Linked DNA regions of Homo sapiens: all the other regions are linked to region 3. Evidence: promoter capture Hi-C in 16 types of primary human blood cells and fetal thymus (Javierre and others, 2016). All regions are on one chromosome and are shown on one strand. The core of a region is centred on a gene start or on the middle of the fragment in contact, and the rest is flanking DNA. Distances in the headings are between cores, read along the strand shown.

The links. The method cuts DNA at HindIII sites, captures the fragments that hold promoters and counts their contacts. A CHiCAGO score of 5 or more calls a contact.
Region 1: a fragment that was not itself captured here is called in contact with the fragment with the promoter of UBR4 in region 3 in 1 of 17 cell types (fetal thymus); the score reaches 5.7 in fetal thymus.
Region 2: a contact is called between a fragment that was not itself captured here and the fragment with the promoter of UBR4 in region 3, in 1 of 17 cell types (total CD4 T cells). The highest score is 5.1, in total CD4 T cells.
Region 4: a fragment that was not itself captured here is called in contact with the fragment with the promoter of UBR4 in region 3 in 2 of 17 cell types (total CD8 T cells and total B cells); the score reaches 6.1 in total CD8 T cells.

Annotation. Positions count from the first base shown.
Region 1 is chr1:18,641,130-18,644,090 of GRCh38, reverse strand. The region is part of intron 4 of PAX7 (paired box 7); the gene reads right to left. Among named protein-coding and RNA genes, the nearest start is that of PAX7, 12 kb to the right of the region's middle. RefSeq lists an enhancer at 2,619-2,961. The HindIII fragment of the contact is 6,318 bases long and covers 1-2,961 here.
Region 2 is chr1:19,761,172-19,764,371 of GRCh38, reverse strand. All of the region lies in intron 6 of TMCO4 (transmembrane and coiled-coil domains 4), which reads left to right. Among named protein-coding and RNA genes, the nearest start is that of TMCO4, 37 kb to the left of the region's middle. The HindIII fragment of the contact is 3,003 bases long and covers 378-3,200 here.
Region 3 is chr1:19,208,743-19,211,689 of GRCh38, reverse strand. It overlaps UBR4 (ubiquitin protein ligase E3 component n-recognin 4), which reads left to right and starts at 1,424. Exons shown (of 106, transcript NM_020765.3): 1 at 1,424-1,617. The coding sequence starts at 1,442. It overlaps EMC1-AS1 (EMC1 antisense RNA 1), which reads right to left and starts at 1,304. Exons shown (of 2, transcript NR_135114.1): 1 at 1,131-1,304. RefSeq lists silencers at 340-409, 1,435-1,754 and enhancers at 1,035-1,084, 1,335-1,384. The HindIII fragment of the contact is 5,774 bases long and covers 759-2,947 here.
Region 4 is chr1:19,887,491-19,890,436 of GRCh38, reverse strand. It overlaps OTUD3 (OTU deubiquitinase 3), which reads right to left. Exons shown (of 8, transcript NM_015207.2): 2 at 1-52. It overlaps LOC105376823 (a long non-coding RNA gene), which reads left to right and starts at 1,273. Exons shown (of 3, transcript XR_947028.3): 1 at 1,273-1,313. The HindIII fragment of the contact is 151 bases long and covers 1,199-1,349 here.

The DNA of each region.
Region 1 (2,961 bases), core at 190-2,689, 570 kb after region 3:
GAGGGGAAAGTGGCCGGAGCGCCATCCCTTCCCAAGAACTTAGAAGGGGCGGCGGCTAAATTGGAAGGCGGCGAGCTTCACTCTCCGGGCAGTGAAGCCCGGGCCGGCCTGTTAATTTAGCAACGCTCTGAATGCAGTTCCCGGCCTCTCCCTCTCTCCACGTCCCAACACCGCCAGGCACGCGGGCTGGCCCCTGCCCAGCGCCCCGGGTTGGAGCGCAGAACCCGGCCTCCCGCCTCGGGGTCGGCCTCCCTCCCGCCCTGCCGGCCCAGCTCGCTCGCCTCTAATTAAGCGGCAGGATCGCAGCGAGCCGCCGGGACGTGCTGTAATATGATGAACTGCCTTTGTGCGGATGTCACCGAAAGCGCTTCTGATAAGGCGAAGCCACGAAGGATCAAAAGGGCGGCCGCGGCTCGCCCGCCTCCTATCTTCCCCTAGCCGCTGCCCGGCTTTGAGCACTCGCCCTCTCGGCCCGTGCTCTCCCGCGGGCTGTCTCTAGGTCCCGCTGGCTCTCCTGATCCGCCTGTCCCAGGGCCAGTCTCTCGGTGATTCTGCATCTCTTTGTCTTTCTTCCTGCTGCTCGGCGCCTCCCTCGGCGCCTCCGCATTTTCCAGCGTCCTCAAACTGTGCGCAAGATTCTCTTCTGCTGCGCTCAGACTTTCTCACTCTGAATTTTCTAGCTCTCTCCTCCTCTGTGGCTCTCTGTCTCCGCTGCCTCTCCCCACCCCTCCCTTGGTCTCCACCGGAGCTCGGGCCCAGCGCACCTCCAGGACCAGGGCGACCAAGCCATGGAAAGGTCCGTTCGCTGACCCTCAGACTGGGGAAATCGGCCAATTCACTGGCAGCCGACACGCAGAGCTCCGCGGCGGCCCCAGTGCCCCTCGCAATCCACCCTCGCTCAGCTCGGCTGCCAAACCGGGGGCCTGGCACGCGTGCCCAAGGCGCCCTAGAATGCCCTCGGGGCCTCTTTTGAGCTGGACTTGGGGCGCACACAACTTCCCTTCACCCCTCCCGAGGCTGTAGCGACCCGCAGACGCTTTTCCTCTCCCAGGAGGTTGAAGTTCCAAGTGCAGCCGACCCCCTCCCTTCGCATCCCCTCCCCACACCCTTTCCTTTGGCCCCCGCCTCCCCTTTGCCCTCGACCCCGTCTCTTCCTCCTCCAGGCCCCTCCCCTTCCCATGCTGGTAGTTCCCCCTGCGCTCTCACTGGACTCCTTCCCCGCCTCACCTCTCCCCCACCCCACTTCGTTTGAAGTTTTGGAGACATCTATCTACTAATGGCGAAGTTTCCCCCTTAGGTCACCGTTCTGCCTTGATTCGATTTGGGAAGGCGAGTTCCCTCCCTCCCTCCCCCTGCTCCACCCCAGCCGGGGCCAATCGCTCCAGAGCAGGTCAGAAAGCGCTGACCCCATTTCCACCTTTTCCTCTTTCAGCCAGAGTTGGGGGAAGGGGAAAAGAAGAGGGAAGGCCCCGGACAGCAAAAACTGAGGGGGGCATCCTAATCTTCCCAGCGCCTCTAACCCTCATCCTGTTTGCTAATTACCCCTTTAGTCTGCAATGGGAGGGAGAGAAGAGCTATTTTTCTGGAATTTCTGGAATGTGTCCTCCCCCCTTAGTCATGGCCTTCAAGGCCCCAGAGCCTCTAGAGAACCTTTCTTTGGGGGTCTCTCCTCTGTGCAGGAACCCTTCCCTCAACCAGGCATTGTCTTTTCAGGGGTGTGAGTTCTGTCTAGTCTTAGACTATGAGCTTCCAGGGCCACGGCCAGGACCTTGTACATTACATGTTTATATCCTTAGGTGCTCTTGCCTCACAGTACAGAATGAAGCCTCATCAACTTTGTTGATGGTGATAGAATGATGGCAAATAGAAACTCCAAAGAGGTAACCTGGAATGAAATCTCATTTGCTCAGCCCTCTTTTCCTATATAAAAATATGTTTTATATAATATTATTTATATATAATGTAATGTGTGACAACTATCATTTTCAGAAAGACATTCTTAAAAAAAAAAGCCCAAATAATCACCTTACTGCTTTAAGGCTACTGTTATATGTGCTTTTAAATCCTTCCATGTAAATTCCACTGAAAATTTGGAAAGCTGTGAAAGGGGAGGGGGCCGCGGGAGTTGGGGGGGGGGAGGTTAATCCGGGTTTAACGCTGCGATGCAGTCTCAGGACCAGGGTTAGCCTGATTGCGTTATCTCTTCCCAACATTTGAGACGCCCATATTTTACCCAGCCAAATAGCTCCGAGAGCAGCGCAGATGGCTGCTGTGGTCGCGCCTCAGGAAAATGTGTTATTAATATCTAAATAACTTCCCAATACTGTCTGGTAAATCTCCCCTCCACCATTCCAAATGATGAATTCGTTTGAAGTCTTCCCCCAGCCTCGTCTTTTCAATGTCTCTCTTCTCTCTTCTTCTTAGCCAGGCTTATTTCAAACTGGTAAATATCTAATTCCTTTAACCGCTGCGCCGTGCACACTAGTCTTTTAGGTACAAACGCCTTGAAACAGCCCAAGTGTGGCGGTGCGTGCCCCGAGGGGAACACAAAACCCGCACGCCCTCGCAGCGGGGGACCCCACCCGGTTCAGACGTGCCTGCGTTCCAAGACCGGCTGAGCACGGGAACCTCACTCAATCCGGGAACCGAGCCTCTTTTCTTGCGCGCCCTGGGGAGCCCCTCTTGGCTCCCCACGGAGTCCCAAAGGCACCCCCCAACACTCAGCTCTTCCGCAGCTCCCAGTCCCCTCCCTTCCACCCCTTCCCAGACCTCCGACGGCTTCCCCCGCTCTCTGGGGCGGATAATTGCCCTCCGCTCGCCTGTTCTCCCTTGTTTAAAGTTTGTTTTCTAAATGTCTTCTATTAGATTATGCTCATTCATCCCCCTCCAACCTTATCTCCTTCTGTCTCTTCTCTCCTTGCTCGTCACACTCAATTTAGGCACGAGTTTATCTAGCAAACA
Region 2 (3,200 bases), core at 630-3,129, 550 kb before region 3:
CCCCACAATGACCCTTGGAGGTAGATGCTGTTACTGTTCCCATTTTACAGCAGAGGAAACTGCAGCGCAGAGAATGAAATGCCTGCCCAAGCTGGAAAGTGAGAAGTTAGGATTCCAGACAGGCCCCGGGGCTCCTGAGTCCACCTCTTACCTGCTGTTCCACCTCCCACATGGAGATAAGTGGAGACTTCACCCCTGAAGCTGACTTTAAGAGGGTTGGATGAGGCCTGAATGAAGGGCGGGTGCCCATGCGGCAGGAACCAAAGGAGCTGCTTCTCTTACTGATCCTACATCCAAGAAGGTGGAGATGGGAGGGTCTCAGAAGCAACCCCTCCTCTCTCCCCTCTGCTCCAAGACCACTGGTCTTGAAGTAAGCTTGTCACTGCCTTAATGCCCTTAATCGTCCTAAGCCATGAGGACAAAAGGCAAGAATCATCCCCAAGATGTCCTGAGTTAGACTGCCCTGTGAGGGCTCTGCAGCCAGGCTCAGCCTCTCAAAATCGGGACCCTGGGCACACAACGGGGCTTCAACCCAGTGCTCAGCAATGGACAGGGTGTATGGTACTGGAATACTGTGTAGTTTCTTCTTTATATGGGAAATAATTCATTTAGGGTAAAAATGGGGCTACGTAATAAATATTCTAGAAAAAGTATGTAATTAGAAAAGTTGGTGAATCAAGGGATAGTAGGGTGGTGGGTGAGGTTAGCAGTTATATGAATGTGACCTGTGAGGTGTGTCCTCAGACCCAGGGAGAAGAGAGACAAAGGGCCCCTGCCCTGGCACAGCAGCAGGCAGCCCACAGCCTCACCCTGGCACCCTGGCTCAGAGAGTGGCTTCTTAACAGGTACAGGAAGGAGGAAACATGACAATTTCCCATGAAGTAATATCAGCCACCCTGTATCGGGCACTTACTGTGTCCCAGGTGCCAGCCAAGCTCACCACATCCATCCTCTTATTGTCCCTCAACAAAAGCCAGATCAAAAAGATATTCTTGGCCCGGCGTGGTGGCTCACGCCTGTAACAATCCCAGCACTTGGGAGGCCGAGGCAGGCAGATCACTTGAGGTCAGGAGTTCGAGACCAGCCTGGGCAACATGGTGAAACCCCATCAGTACTAAAAATACAAAAAGTTACCAGGCATGGTGGTGGGTACCTGTGATCCCAGCTACCCGGGAGGCTGAGGAACAAGAATCGCTTGAACCCTGGAGACGGAGATTACAGTGAGCCAAGATCGTGCCACTGCACTCCAGCCTGGGTGACAGAGTGAAACTCCATCTCAAAAAAAAAAAGAAAAAAAGAAAAAGATATTCTTATTCCCCTTTTGCAGATGAAGAAACTGAGGCTCAGAGAGGTTAAGAGACTTACTGAACCCATTCAGCTAGTAGGAACTTAGATCAAGATTTAAACCCAGGTCTGTTTGACAAAGGCTGAAGTTTCTGCCTCTGGGTTCCTTCGCTTTGGTCTGGAGGGCAGCCCCCAAAGGGCGGGGATTGACCATGATCTCTTCCCAAAGGTGTGGGCTCTCCCAGCAGGTACGAGGTCAGCCCCGACCCACCATCCCTACCTCCATGCTCAGAGATGGAGCCATTACTGGGAACAGGCTGTTTCAGTGCCTTACAACAGGAGGCTGTCCTGCCCCCCGCTCCTGATTTGGGGGATTTGGAAATGTGGGGAGAGTCAGGATTGTTATCACAACCTGTGTGGGTGCAACTGGCATTTAGGGCCAAGTTCCCAGGGTGCTGCTATTCTTTGATGCATAAGAGTGTTCGATAATGAAGTACGAAACGCAGCTGCTTCTGTATTGAGAAATGCTGGTGGGCGAAGGAGTCCCATCATGAACACACAGCCTGGCTCTGGACATGCCCCTTGCTCTTGTTGAAGCAGGGGGACCAGTTGGCTCCAGGGGCTCCCACAGTATGTGGTTGTGTGTCTGGGGTGGGCACCAGGGCTAATCCCGCAGTTCTGGGTGTCTGGCACACTTCTGCCCTCTGGTGGCAGAGCCGAGATCCCTCGGTCACCCTCCCCAATCCCCCATCTTTCCAAAGAACTGTTATCCCGTGATACGTAACTTTTAGGTGTGCCTGTGGCCCATGATCTAGGGCTGCCCCTGAGATTGTATGTATACCCCATGTGCATAAAATATAGGATTCACAGCTGGCCAAACGAGATTGTCCTAGGACACCAAACTCACTCAAGAGTAAGGCATTTGCCTTTAAAAGGCACTCATAGTGGAATGAGCAGAAATGTTGGCATCACATAATTTGGATTATAATCCAAGCTCCAGCACTCTCTGACCTGTGTGGCTTTGAGAAAGTTTCTTATCCACTCTGCACCTGTTCTTTCTTCATTTGCAAAATGCGGCATCATAGTGACAACCTCCTAGGACCATTGGGAGGATCAGCAATCACAAATGCAAGCTCCTGCCATGATGCCTGCTGCTTAGGAGCAGGCCAGGGATGCCGGGTTCCCTTCCCTGCAGAGGTGGCAGGAGGAGCATCACGCTCTGCCTCCAGGCATGAGCACATCCAGACTATCTCAGACTGGGAGGAGCTCATTTGCAAGAGGGGAGCCCACTGCTCTGTTTCCTGGGGTAGGAATCATCTGTTTCAGAATCACTGGGAGTGGGGAGTGTTGTTAAAAGTACAGATTCCTAAGCCCTACCCCAGATCTCCTGCATGTGGGACCGAGGAAGCTGTAATTCCACAAGCTCTCTGGGACCTTGATGTTCCCTAAACTCTAAGAACCACTGTCCCGCTGTGACTGTCAAGTCTCCACATGACCCTGTTGCTGTTGGGCTGTTTCAAGTTCATTTGACCTTGGGCTTTAAAGGTCTCTCCTTGTGAGGAGGAACAGGTACCCTGAGGCTGACCCTCAGATCTCTGAGCTGGAAAGGACCTCTGGATACCAGCTCCTTTGGTCCTTCCGGCAGGATCCAAAAGTCTGGGCCTGGGCACTGGACTGGAATCTGCACATCTATCAGGAGCAATGGGGGGATGTTGCAGCACCCATTGATCATGGGCTGATTTAGAAGGAGGCCGTGAGGAAGGGGTGCAGGCTGGAAGCATGGGCGGGCTTCGGGGAGAGGTGTGTGGCTGGAAGACAGTGTTCTGCTAGCTCGTGGCCCTCCTTCCCACTTCATGGTGCGGGGAATGGGTGGCGGTCAGGTGCACAGCATCTGCACCCAGGCTGCCACTTTACTA
Region 3 (2,947 bases), core at 175-2,674:
AAACTTGCTGTTATTATTATCCTCTGGTAAGTAGGCACTGAAGGAAAATCCCTACTGCTGTCATCAAAGCCACATTTTCCTCCAAGACCGGCTTTGACTTGACTGAATTTTATTTCGAATGTAAAGATGCAGGCTGGGCGCAGTGGGTCAAGCCTGTAATCCCAGCACTTTGGGAGTCCAAGGTGGGAGGAACCTAGGACTTCGAAAACAGCTTGGGCTACGTAGGGAGACCTGTCTCTTAAAAACAAACAAAAAAAATTAAGAGTGGTGGCCTGCACCTGTATAGTCTCAGCTACTGGGGAGGCTGAGGCTGGAAGATCACTTGAGCCAGGGAGGTGGAGGCTGCAGCCAGCTGCAACTCTGCCACTGCACTCCAGCCTGGGCTATTGGGCGACAGAGCAAGATCCTGTCTCAAAAAAGGTAAAGTAGGTCATATCTTAATAAAAGTGCAGATTAATCACTAGGTACCAATTCATTTATCAGTGTTACACACCAAGAACAAAAGCTCTTCCTAAACTTAGGGGGAGAATTTCAGGGCTTTAGGAATTTGAAACCGTCTTCACAGTTCCTTCCCAGTCTTATTTAGGCCAGCTGTAGGCCACAGGCTAGAGCTTGAAGCCGTCCACCAATATCTCACTCACAGGACTGTCCTTAATGCACGAATACCTTTCCTCGAGCAAACTGCTTTTCCCTCTTAGACCTTGTAGCCAGATCATTTTACCGGCAAAAGTCTCAGACATCTCCTGTGAATAAAAGCTTACATTCTTTCCTTGCCAGTAGAAAAAAGGGGAACACGTAAGCATACGTGGCAAATTGCAAAGAGGGATGCATTGTACGAGCTGGTCAGATTGTTAATGAGGGCAATCCAAACAGAAGAGATTTGAGTGCTAAGGGAATACGGATCAGTGATTAAAAGGTGTTGTGAGAGGGAGAAATCTTTGTAAACTATGGCGCTCTTTAGTATTACTATTGGGGGGATCTAGGCAGGGGAAGAAGCAGGTGAAAGCGTTTTAGGCTTCGGCCTCCTCTTGTCGTCCTTAGCTGTCCCAGGCCAGGGCCATTCTATACGCCGAGGCGTAGTCAACTCTGCTGCCCTAGACTTGCCCACTGAACCCATGCCCCAGACTCACCTTTACCCGCTGCCCGGAAGCCAAGTCGCTACCACCTGCTTGAGCAACTCCCACCGCGCAGGCTCAGAAGTTAACGCTCTCCCGCCTTTCCCCGCTGCGCTACCTTCTGAGCAGGCGCAGCGTCTCCGATCCGTTCCCTCGCCGCGGCTCGACCCCGGTGAGAGCAAAGGCCGCTCCGCGCGTCGCGTTTTTGACCCATGACGGCGGCGCGCAGTCTGACGCGACAGATTGCGTCACTTCCGCCCCCTCCTGGGAGGCGGCGCTGGGCCGGTGGCAAGCCCCCGGAGGGAGCCGCAGTAGTACGACGGAAGATGGCGACGAGCGGCGGCGAAGAGGCGGCGGCAGCGGCTCCGGCGCCGGGGACCCCGGCAACGGGGGCGGACACGACCCCGGGCTGGGAGGTGGCTGTGCGGCCCCTGCTGTCCGCGTCCTACTCCGCCTTCGAGATGAAGGAGTTGCCGCAGCTGGTGGCCTCAGTCATCGAGAGGTACCGGGCGGCGGCTCTGGCGGGCGACGCTGTTGTGGGGGGAGGGGATTTCGAGCCGGATCGTCTGGACCCGCTTTCCGGGCCGCCCCCTGCCCCCTTGAGGATCCCCGCCACAGCCACGGCTTCGGGGTCCCGGGCCCGGGGAGACTGGCTTGCCTGGGTTTCCCTCCGCCAACGCATGTAAATCACCTCTACCTCAGTTTCCCCTCTCGAGCAAAACTTTAGCGGCCTCCCTGCGGGAGGGCGTGGCCGGACATGGTTGAGAGTGAGATGCATTCGCCCTCTTAAGGGAATGTTCACGGGGCTGCCCCTTGGGTCAAGTCACAGATGAGTTTGCATTTCTCGCCCGCACTCATCCTCCTAGCCTGGGCCGGAGCGGAGCCGTACGGTATAATTTAATAACGGTCTCCCCGCGGTGCTGTAATCAGTGGGGGCACGTGCTATTTCTGTGACTGAAGCCACTAGCTACATTGATGACCTCTTTTTACGTTGCACTCCTTGTGCATTCCTACTGTATCGGTCTTTGATTAAAAACATTTCAGTGTGTGTCTGAGAGATCATTTTCCCAGAGGATGTGTGGTGTGTGTGTTCTCTTGCTGCCTCCCATCCCCCTCGCATTAAAATATCATCACATTCTTTTACAAACGGTACTATCTGTTGGTTTCCTTTTGTGTGTTTTTGTCTTTTTGCACAGCGATTCTTAGCTAGTGACAGTTATGTAGGTACAAAGATGGTGATCTCAGAGTGCCTGCCTTTTCCTGACATACTGTGCTCAGAGCAGTCTTTCATTAGTTTAATGGTAGACTTTTGCTTTTAAAGCCAGACTGACTTTCATTTTTCTAGCCATACCTCATTTCAGCAACTCCCTGCAATTGTTAACTGGGTCATTTTAGCTTCACGATGACAAGGGTATATCTAGCTGCTATCCAGAGGTTAAAAATTGCTATTTGTTACTCAAAGGAGGCCCACGGTTTGACAAATTGTTTTTGTGCTTTTTCTTGTTGTAGACTTGTAATCCTTTGGATGCAGAGTTTTTAACAAATTATAATAAAATAATGGTTGAGTTTGGTAACTTCACAGTCAGCTTTACAGACGGATTTTGCTATCTAATCATCAGGCCAGGAATGTTCTGAAGATGTAAACAGGTTTCAAATATACTACTTTCAAATTACGTGGCTGCTTTTTGTTTTAAACATTTGGATTGGCAGTATTTTTCCTGACTCATACTCATGTTACGTAGAATCAGTAACGTTCCAGTCTTTTTAGAGCATTTGCTTTTATGTTTTTCTGGACATGAGCTGGATAGGTTATAAAATATTAATAATTTGTT
Region 4 (2,946 bases), core at 25-2,524, 680 kb before region 3:
ATTTCGTGAGTGTCCCTCCAATTGATCACCAAGAGCTCTGAACAAGCAATTGCTGTCAAAACAACAACACGAGTCAAGACCTTTCAAAAATGAACTTAGTTCGTCTAAAACAATGATGCTTCATGCCAGATCATCCATGGAAATATTTTGTGCACACAGAGGTAAAGACTCAACTCTAATAGTCCAGGATTCTTCCAAGACCACGGGGGACAGCATGAGGGCATATTCAACCATATTACCTTCTTGAGAGGCAGCAAACAAGGATTCTATTCCCCATGTACCAGCTGGCTGACTCAGGAGAGTCATCAAACTTCCCTGGGCCTCAGCTGCTTCAACAAGTGGAGCCGGTGATACACTAACCACCTTACTACAAGGTCCAGACCTTATAGGCCATTCCATGCCTAAGGGCTATGATTTACAGATCCTCTTCCAAAATCATGTCCTATCTACAGCCTCTTTTCTAAAACAAGTTCCACTACAGCTACCCAGCTAAGTAATCATTCATTTAACAAATAGTACCCAAAAAATAGCAATTTGTCAAGCTGCCAATACTAACAACTGAACAATACTCTGTTTGAGTCCTAAGAACATAGTGGAGAAAGTCATGAGAAGGAAAGCACTTGGACAACAAACAGTTGTACTATGGAAAGACACTTCCTCCTTGCCTCCTCACTTAGCACCCAGGGAGCAACAATGCCATTGTTATTCCTGCCAAATGAAAACTTTAAACACCACATTTTGTTTCTCTAAAATTAAAATACTGGTAATAAACTGTAAGAGTTATCTTTACTTTCAAACCCCTCAAAGGCTTCTAAATTCCGAACTATCACAAACACAGAGGCTTAGATACACAGAGACTCAAACAAGACAAACACAATCTGGTATCCTTAAAACTACAGAAATAAACAATTCTGAAGCCAAACAGTTGTCCAGTTTTACACCCAACTGTTTACTCTTCCAAATGAAAAACTATGATACTGTAATTCCAAAGTATAAACTCATCACTTTCAGAAAGATTTCATGTCTAAATGTGTAGGAAAAAAGGGGGTTTTGTTTTTCAACTCAGAAAAGTGAATTTTCAACAGAAAGCTATAGAAAGGCTGGAATCTCTTCTAATGTATAAGAATATATACTTTTTTTTTTTTTGCAGGGGAGGGGAGAATTAAGACAGCTTCTATAAATTAAAAACCAAGAAGCTTTCCAACAATCTAAGACAAGATTCTAGAAGGAGTGGAATATAGAGTTCTGTAGGCTAGACTGAGGTGTCTTGCTAAAATCTGACAATGGCAGTCTTTTTTCAACCATGGAGAAAAGTAAGTTAATCGATAAAACAATTTAAATGTCAAGCTTTTCCCTCAAACTTTTCTTAATCAGCATCTGCCACCACTAGCCTATTCTTGAATTTAGTTTAAGAGATGTGATTTATCACAAATTTATGTAGTTATTTTACATTTAATGTACCAAAATTCATGGTATTCTACAGTTACATGTTTGCTAGGAACTTTTAATAACATGAGCAAATGTTCTCCAAAAAAGTAGGTGTAGAACTGTATATGCCACATGAACTCAACCAAGTTCATCTGTACACTATACACATACACAGACACAGAAACACACACAAACGTATGCCAAGAAAACACACAGAAACAACCACTTAAATAGTTCTTACAATGTGCCAGGGACTGTCCTAAACACTTTATATGTATTAAACATGTTGTGTCTCACAACTCTGAGATAGGTCCTATTACCATCCCTCAGGGGAAACCTGCCCAAGGTCACAAAACTAGTAAGTGGTAGGCCCAGGATCCAAGTCCAAATAACGTGGCTCTCGCTCGAATGTCAACACCAAAATGATAGCCATAGTTACCCCTAGGCAGCAGAATTAAAAATAATATTTAAGAGTTTTAATTGTTACATTTTTTAATATGCTTTTCATTACTTACCAAACTTTCTTTGAGCTCACCCAAAACAAGCCAAAATAGACAAATCACTTCCTTTTCTGACAGGATTACAAGGTAATGAACAAACACTCCAGTGACCTGGGTTTCCTTAGGTGAGCCCAATAAGAGCACTCAAGAAACTCATGAGAACAAAGCACCGCTGCCCAAAGGGCCTCTAGGAGATCTGGGCCACTTCCTGAGTTCACACTCTCACCATTACCTATAGCAGGGCTTCTCAATCTCCACATTATTGACATTCCAGGATCATTTTTTTGTTGTGGGAGGCTGTCCTGTGCACTGTAGGAAGTTTAGGAGAATACTTGGCCTCTGCCATTAGCTGTCAGTAGCACATCACTACCTCCCTCCCCATCAGTTGTGACAACCAAAGATGTCTCTAGACATTGCCAAATGTCCCCTGGAGGGCAAAATCATCCCTGCTTGAGAACCACTGTGTTATAGGGATATATGGCAGGTCTCGCATTTGAGTTCACAAAAACAACCAATTACATAAAGAGCACGCAAATGTTTTGAGTGCGCAATAATTTACTATTAGACAATATTGCAACACACGCACCAAAAAACCTAACGTGCTCTCTAGACTGCAGTAATAATAGTAAATGTGCAGAAAAAGGAAAAGGTTTTATTATTTGGGGTCAGACCAGATAGGGTACTGGGTACCATTCTAGTTACTGTATTTTAAGAGAGACGTATTCAGATAAATGATGTGGCTTTAATACAATATGAAGAACTACTAGTGATGTTTGGCCTAAAGAAGGCTCAGGGGGACGTGATCAATACCTCCAACTGTCATGTGAAATTAAAATTATACCTGTATAATAAAACGAAAACCTGGAAGCCACAGAGACATAGATTTTGGCAAATAAAAGGTAATTTCACCTTAGCTCTACGGAGGTAGACTATATAGACTCAGGATTCTGCCAATTTCTATAACTAGCAATTCACAGCAATTGTCTAGATGTGTGTTGTTTAATAGTGGTTGCTAACC